2 separate regions of the Homo sapiens genome follow, and region 2 is linked to region 1. The links are contacts of gene promoters, found by promoter capture Hi-C in human tissues and cell types (Jung and others, 2019). All regions are on one chromosome and are shown on one strand. Each heading gives the region's core, a stretch centred on a gene start or on the middle of the fragment in contact. The rest is flanking DNA. Distances are from core to core; before and after follow the strand shown. Region 1 holds the start of NT5C3A (5'-nucleotidase, cytosolic IIIA). Region 2 has its middle 35 kb from the start of FLJ20712.

Region 1 (3,850 bases), core at 511-3,010:
GTCACAAAGATAGCAAACTGTTCCTATGATGGTATCATTGAAGGATTTTGTGAACACACTGATTTTTAACCTTACTTGGCTTAGATAAGTGGTATACAGACCAATCCATAGTTTAAGCACAGGCAGGGAGATATGGCAACTCGGTTTTTTCCCCTACATAGGCATTATTAACCTTGGGCAAAAGAAAGCCAAGTTTTCTAAGCAGGAAAGCAACAAAAGCAAAATGAAACTTCTGAGTTAAAACCATTTGCTGCTGTGGGCATACAGATGTGGGACAAATGAATTTTAATAAGCCTTTAGAATTATTAAGACCCTTTAAGAATAAATTAATTCAAAATTAGGGAATATTATTGGAATATGAGACAAGTGGGAATTAACTTTTTTTTTTAAGAGACAGGGTCTCGCTATGTTTCCCAGGCTGGAGTGCAGTAGCTATCCACAGGTGTGATTATAACCTTGAACTCCCAGACTCCAGTGATCTTCCTCTCAGCCTCCCAAATAGCTGGGACACTGGCTAATTTTAATTATGCAAATACATCTGTATTCAACCTGGGGTCAGTACAACCAATAGGACAAATCGTGTCTTTCGTCAGTTGGAACATATTGCAGGTGCTCAGAAATTCCAAGTATTACACCCTAAAATGATATTATTTAGTGTAGATTTTAAATTTTTTTCTATCATAAATCATCTGACCCTAGATGTTCACATGTATAGCACACGGTCAGGCGTATACCCAGGATTATGCATTTCAGGAAATACATAAGCGTGCAAGTTTGTGCAAGAATTGTCTTCCTGAGTGGGTTCTAATTAAAATACAAAACGAAACTAAATATCCTCATTTTTGAAACAATTACTTATAATGTATCTCAAAGGGAATTCTTGAGACACCCTCTTCAATAAAAAATTAAATTCGAAAATGTATACAAGAGCTTTGGGAGTTAAGATGAAAACAAAGATATTTCGTGGGAGTTTTGAGACAAGAAGGAATACATTCAAATACAAAATAAACTATCCTGAATTTCTCCTGGATTGCCATTCTTGTAAAATTTTAGATATTGCACATTTTCATAATCTAACTCACGGCAGCCCCAACATAAAACTAGTCCTCTGCGGGAATTGCAACTAGATTAGCGGCAACGGTTTGACGCGGATCCGGGGGGAGGGCGGGAGCAAGGCAGGGAGAGAAGGAGCCACCTGCCCAGGACATGCAGCTTATCTCTAGAGAAACGGGTTTTGCAGCACAAAGTAGCCTGTGTCCGATTCATCTATTTTCTGCCTTGTTCCTTCAAACGGAAACCTAACAAAGACCACGGGCAGCCAAGGGCCGCAGCCGGGGACCCAACCCTGGTCACCAAGCCCGCGGAGTGGCCGCACGCGGGGCGGCCGGGTCCCCCAAGCTGCGCGTCCCGAGCTAGCGAGATCCCAGCCTGACAGGCGACGCCGGCAGCTCCCCGTCGCGACCGAACAGCGGCCCAGCACAGGCTGCCGAGGCCAGCGGACGGCCCAGCCGGCCCCTCGCGTGCTCTGGGCGCGCCGAGCCTCCACACTCACCATCTCGATGATCTTGGTCTTCCGCCCCGTCTTCCTCTTCAAGGTGAATATGTACTGAGCCAGCACCACCCCCGCCACCAGGGCGCACACGCTGGCGCTCGCTACCGCGCCCACCCTCGCCACGGCCGCGCGGTCCATGGACGGGGCCCTCATGCGCGTCCAAGCAGGAAAAAAACAGGCAGCTCGCGTAGACTGCGAGTCTCGGAAGCGCGGGATCCCAGAGCATCACGGACGAGCCCGCGACGCCCCGCCCCGCGCAGCGACGCCCCGCCCCGCGCAGCTCCGCCCCCACGAAGCCCCACCCACACGCCATCGATGGGAGAGGCCAGGACGCGGCGGGAGGGGTGTGGCCTGTGCCCGGAGCCCAGGCTGGAGGCGGCCTTCAGCAGACTCAGGGTCTCACGAGCTGCTGTCAGGGCAGGGCAGAGTATTGCGGTAATTATCCTTCTCTGCTAATGAGGATTAGGCCGTGGTTCGCTCGAGCCCCGCCCCAGTAGAAATCTAATTCCAACTGCGGCCCGCTAAGAAGTCGGTCTCCGCCTTCGCGCCTCAGCCCCTCTGGACTCCGACCCCCAGAAGGCTGCGCGGCACGGTGTGACCTGCGCAGTGGCGTCCGTTCTAAGTGCTATAACAACAGGGGGAAGATGGCTCAGAGTTAGGCTGGAGAGGGGCGGTGTCCCTTCCGCCGCAGCCGCGGGGTTTCTGCTACATCCCATTCGCCACCTCCGCCATCCTTTTTTCTGTGTGAGCAGAAGGGCTTGCAGTTGTTCTCTCCTGCCTAGTGTCTTCCAAGGGATAGATGCCATTTCTTCTGCTGGTCTCTGGGGGTGAGGAGGGGCGCAGGGGAGCTTCTTGGGGGAATCGCTCCAACTCTGTGGAGCTGGTGGTGCTGCCTGGTGGGGCTCTCTCTGCCCAGGACGTGGAACAACTTTCAGCCGGAGGACTAGAGGAAATAGTTGTAGGGGAGGAAAAATTGTTTCCTTCTAGCCTTTTAGGTCATTTGGCTGGTCTACAAATTAAATTGATGTAAGACAGAGGAACATGAGAAAAACGATTTGTCGACCGAAAGGTGAAATAACAGGTACTAAAACTTAAAGAAATCATGGTTAGTTTTATTACTCGGCCAAGTTTGAGGACTTAAGCCTGGGAACACAGACTCAGTATAGACCGAGAACGTGTCCCAAAGTAAGTTAGCTGGGAGTATAACCTGAAGAAGACTGAGTTTTAATACCCAGAATATTTGAGTATCAATATCTAGACTACTGTGTCATTTTGTCGCCAAAGTAATTTTTTATGAATCCAGTTTTGCACCAAATACCAATATGACTTAAATGTTGTCTGATTGTGAGGCCTAAGATGGTCACAGTCTCATTTATCTTTCTTCCTCAACAAAAACATTTTCCATATATTACATATTATTTTGAATGGGTAGAGACTAAAGCCACGTTTCTATAATTTCAGGATTTTAAACATTTTGTAGACGATAACATTCGTCTTGAAGCTGTGGACAATCTAAAACAGAAATGGAGTTCCAAATTTTGTTTTTGTAATATGGCCCGTCAACTGCACATGGGAAGAATGTGGGTACTCTGAAATATGATTTCTATTTTAACTAGTTATACTATATCATAGGTCTGATTATCATCTATATGAGATGTTAAAGCTGTAGGAGTATAGTCAATTAGACTACAAACCCTGGTAGTAAATTTCCAGGAGGAAAGGGGTCCATATGTTTTTTATAAGTGTAAACCTTGTGTTTCTGAATCTAAGAGGGTTGGCCATGTTTGGAGACTATTTCAGCTTCTATGTGAATTAACATATTAATTATTCTTGTTGAAAGACATGGAAGATCTTGATATGGTTTGACCCTGTATCCTCACCCACATCTTATTTTGAATTATACTCCCATAATTCCCATGTGTTGTGGGAGGGACCTGGTGGGAGATAATTGAATCATTGGGGTGTTTTCTTCCATACTGTTTTCGTGGTAGTGACTTAAGTATCAGGAGATCTGATGGTTTTATCAGGGTTTTCGCTTTTGCGTCTTCCTCATTCTCTCTTTGTCTGCTCCCATCCATGTAAGATGGGACTTGCTCCCTGCCTTCCACTATGATTGTGAGGCTTCCCCAGCCACGTGGAACTGGAAGTCCAATTAAACCTCTTTCTTTTGTAAATTGCGCAGTCTGGGGTATGTCTTTATCAGCAGCCTGAAAACAGACTAGTACAGATCTCTACACGGAGAACTACAAAATACTGATGAAAGAAATCAGGCCAGGTGAGGTGGCTGGTGCCTGTAAT
Region 2 (3,858 bases), core at 731-3,230, 700 kb after region 1:
TATTTTCCTCCCTGAACTCTACCTTTGAATAAACATCTTCCTAATCATGTGCCCCAAACTGTTTCTAGCGAATTCAGGAAGAGAGCAAAGTCCAACTATATCTGATGTATCACCCAAGTGGTCCAGAGGTAGATGGCTCGATTGATACAAACCCAACGTAAATTCACAGATTTCAGACGTGTTATATTTATGATCAACTGTGACCCACAAAGTGAAAAGTGTGTGGATCAGTGAAGTTTGGTGGTCTTTAAAAAGGAAGGGAGGCCCTCATCTCCCCCAGAATGGTGCTGAATGTGGCTGGAATGTAGCTAGGTGTCTGCCAGCTGCCATCCAGGCATAATCCAGGTGGGAGCCCCATCTTGGTACAGAACGTAGGAACCCATCTACAGTTCTGTGGCTTTCCTTCCCCAGAGCTGTGTCTGGCCTGAATGTAAAGATGTTTGGAGAAGATGACAAATCCAGTCCATGACCCTGGCTTTAGTCCAGTTCCTCTGACCCCCCTAAATCAGGTCTCAGAGCAACTTGGAGCTTAATGCAGAGGAAGATAATTCTTCTGACTGTGGAAAATATTAGCTAAATAGATGACAAAGATCGGTTGTAAAATCTCTCTAAGAAATGAATTAGATCAGTCTGTCTGCCTAAGGTGGTATGGATGTAATTACCCCTAAAAGCGTGTTTCTTTACATGTAAAACGGGGATTATAGTGGTACCTATATAATGTTCACAATGGTGGTTGTGCAGATGAAGTGAGTAGTGCAGGTAGTGCACTGTGCTACGTTGTTGTAAGTGGTCAGTAACTGATAATATAAAGGGGGACTCCCTTTCTATCCTAGAGGTGACACATTCTCGCCAACTGTTACTGAGTTCAAGAAGAGTCTCTTTCTCTTGTTCTCTCTCTCTCTGTACACACACACACACACACACACCCTGGGGGGTATTAAACAAAGTGTTCCTTTAAAGCTGTATTGTGGTTAATCTCTTATGGCTTGATGAAAGAGCCTCTCTGTATGGACAACCCCTAAGTTCATAATGGCCGTAAAGGACTGAAGGATGGAGAGTGAAATGTGGAACCAGTTTCTCATTGTACTGAAATGTATCATTTTTGGGATTCTTGTTAAGAGACAGTGTCTTCAGTTTCATCATGCACAATTTGTTGTGAGCCCAGCCAAATATGGCCACGTAGTACATCAAGGTGATAATTTTCTAGCACTATGCTAAGTGTTACACACACGTGATATCATGTAACTTTTCACTGAGACCCTAAGAAGTAGCTACTATTTGTCTACCCATTTTACCAATAGGAAAATTGAGACTCAGAAAGCTTAAATTATTTGGCCAAGCTCACAAAAGCAACATGTACAGAGCTAGGATTTGAATTCAGATCTGTGAGAACCCCAAGCTCTTACCACTCCCTTTTCTTCCCTGCCTCCCATCTGCCTCACTCATGTGAATGGCATAAAGATACTCCAATATTGACTTGGCTTGGAGCTTCAGAATGGGGGCCTGCGGAAATGTCTGGAGACATTTTCAGTTGCCACAGGTTGAGAACCCCGCCCTGATAGTATACAGGGGAAGCTCTGTGGTGTAGTGTAGTAAACAACAGGCTTATAAATGTTAGATCATCGAAAGAGTGTGTATCTCATCCCCCAACTCTGCAGGGGAGGTCTGATTACCACCTTTAACACATAGGAAACTGAAGCTCAGAAAAGATAAGTCACTTCCTCAAGATCACATGGTTAGCAATCATTGGAGCTGGAAATGATACTAAGGACTCCTGATCCCAAAGTAGAGATTTTCTCCTTTATCACAATGATCCCTGGGCCATTGTTTTTCTCATCAAATTTAGACTTTTAGTTTACCTAAACATTATTTAGCTTGCTTGGTGGTTCTCAAGTGATAACATGCATCGGATTTGCAGGAGGGCTTGTGGAAGCAGATTGCTAGGCTTCACCATAGAATATCTGATGGGGCCCTGGTGGGGCCTGTGAATTTGCTTTTCTATCAAGCTCCTGGGGGATGCTGATGCTGCTGGACCAGGGCCACACTGAGAACCACTGAATTAGGTCTCAAATGTGTTTTCTTTCTTCTTCTCTTCTGAGTCTTCTTCTGCCTCCTTTTTGCCTCTCCTCCCCCAACTGTCTGGGGACACGAAGAGTGCTGAATTTGCAGCCTGGCTTCTATGGACAGGCTAAGGCTGACAGGCTGGTGAAATATTAGTGCAACATGTGAAACTTACAGCCTTCCGAAGGCTCACTGCAGAGCGCAACCGATTACATGCGTCACTGGTCCAAGTGTTCCTTACAGTCTCCTGGGAGTGAATTAAAATCCTTTGCTGGTGACATAGAGGGGTGGACTGGTTCTGGGTCTGGTCTAATCTGGGTCAGAGAGCATGGGCTGATCTGTCATCTGAAACACTGAAACTTCTCCCAGGCGTCTCCTGGGGGATGATGGCTGCCCGCTGTGCTGGAGGCAAATGGGAGGAGGTACAGATGGAGGCCTGTCCCTTGTCCCTTTGTCTGGCAGCTGCTCTCCTCACAGGGTGGTTGCTGCAGGCAGCAGTAGGTGGTCTGCATAAGGGGCTGGGAAACCAGGCTTCCCACAGCCTTGGGGGTTCCCTCCAATTTGTTACCTCTGAATGCTTGGAACATCTGATGTGCCAGAGGTCCAGGAATTTGTGATGAATGTACAATGAAGACATATGCTGTACTCAAACTAGCAAAAGAGGCCAAGGAGGGGAATCTGGAAACTAGTATTTATTGAGACTGATCATGTGCCAGGCATTGTGTTCGATACTTTACATTCATCTCATTTAATCCTCATAACAGTCTTGCAAGTTAGATGTTCTTACTCATGTGAAGAAAATGGGGTTTCAAGAAGCTAAATAACTTGCCTAAGCCCATCAACCTTGAAAATGGAGAAGCCAGGATTTCAGCCCAAGGTAATCTGACCCTAGCAGCTGTTATCTTTCCATTTAATGAGAGAGAGAGAGAGAGAGAGAGAACTTGAAGGCTTGAGGTTCAGAGGAGGTGAGGATGCCTTATGACTTGTGATTTACTGGGCAATTACTAGGCCAGTTTTCACTTTAGCCAACCTTCGTCAAGTAATTTTGAAAGAGCATGTCTTCCTTCTTTTGCTTGGTTCAGAGAAATTTAATAGGCCAGTTTTGACTTTAGCCAACCTTCGTCCAGTAATTTTGAAAGAGCATGTCTTCCTTCTTTTGCTTGGTGCAGAGAAATTTAGAACAAGGGGAAATAATGCATTAATACATGCTGTAAGAAGTTTGCTTCCATCGTTAGGCAAGTGACTTGTGGAGTGAATATTCCCCTTAGAGCTGTAGGGGGCACAGTAAATCCCAAAACAATTGAAGGAATTATAGAAGCAGGATAGTACAGGACATTAGGACGTTGTGCCTGATCAGGGGAACGAAGCAATTTGTTCTCCTCTCAACCAAAGTTTATCATTTCTTCTTAGTAGATGAAAATGGAATGTCACTGCTTTTTTTCTTTTTATAAGTAAGAAAAACAAATCAACATGCTCCCTATTGTTTCCCTGACTTGTGAAAATAAAATCCAAACATATATTTGTGATTTCATACAGCCCGGAAGACCATGAAAGAAACATGAGCCCGAGGAATTTGTCAACCCACTCTCTCTCTGTGGTCTGCAATGCCTGGGTTTTAATTACTAGTAGGAAGGGCGCTTGAATTGGCAAGACTCTTTTAGTATTCATTCATCTTGAGCAAATTGTGACATCCATGGGGTGGGGAGAACCAAGCATTTAAACTACTTTTTGGCATAATTGGCCTTGACCTTCATAATTTCATAATATGCTTAGTGGTATATGCAACAGGCCTGACTT

The links. The method cuts DNA at HindIII sites, captures the fragments that hold promoters and counts their contacts. A contact is called where the count stands out against the background at its distance.
Region 2: a fragment that was not itself captured here is called in contact with the fragment with the promoter of NT5C3A in region 1 in 2 of the 25 tissues and cell types used here (heart left ventricle and lymphoblastoid cells).

The regions. Positions count from the first base shown.
Region 1 is chr7:33,061,016-33,064,865 of GRCh38, forward strand. It overlaps NT5C3A (5'-nucleotidase, cytosolic IIIA), which reads right to left and starts at 1,761. Exons shown (of 9, transcript NM_001002010.5): 1 at 1,553-1,761. The coding sequence starts at 1,690. It overlaps LOC124901610 (a long non-coding RNA gene), which reads left to right and starts at 2,170. Exons shown (of 4, transcript XR_007060279.1): 1 at 2,170-2,633; 2 at 3,014-3,132. RefSeq lists silencers at 1,396-1,455, 1,756-1,875 and an enhancer at 2,116-2,275. The HindIII fragment of the contact is 10,077 bases long and covers 1-3,850 here.
Region 2 is chr7:33,759,384-33,763,241 of GRCh38, forward strand. No RefSeq gene overlaps it. Among named protein-coding and RNA genes, the nearest start is that of FLJ20712, 35 kb to the left of the region's middle. The HindIII fragment of the contact is 5,997 bases long and covers 1-3,858 here.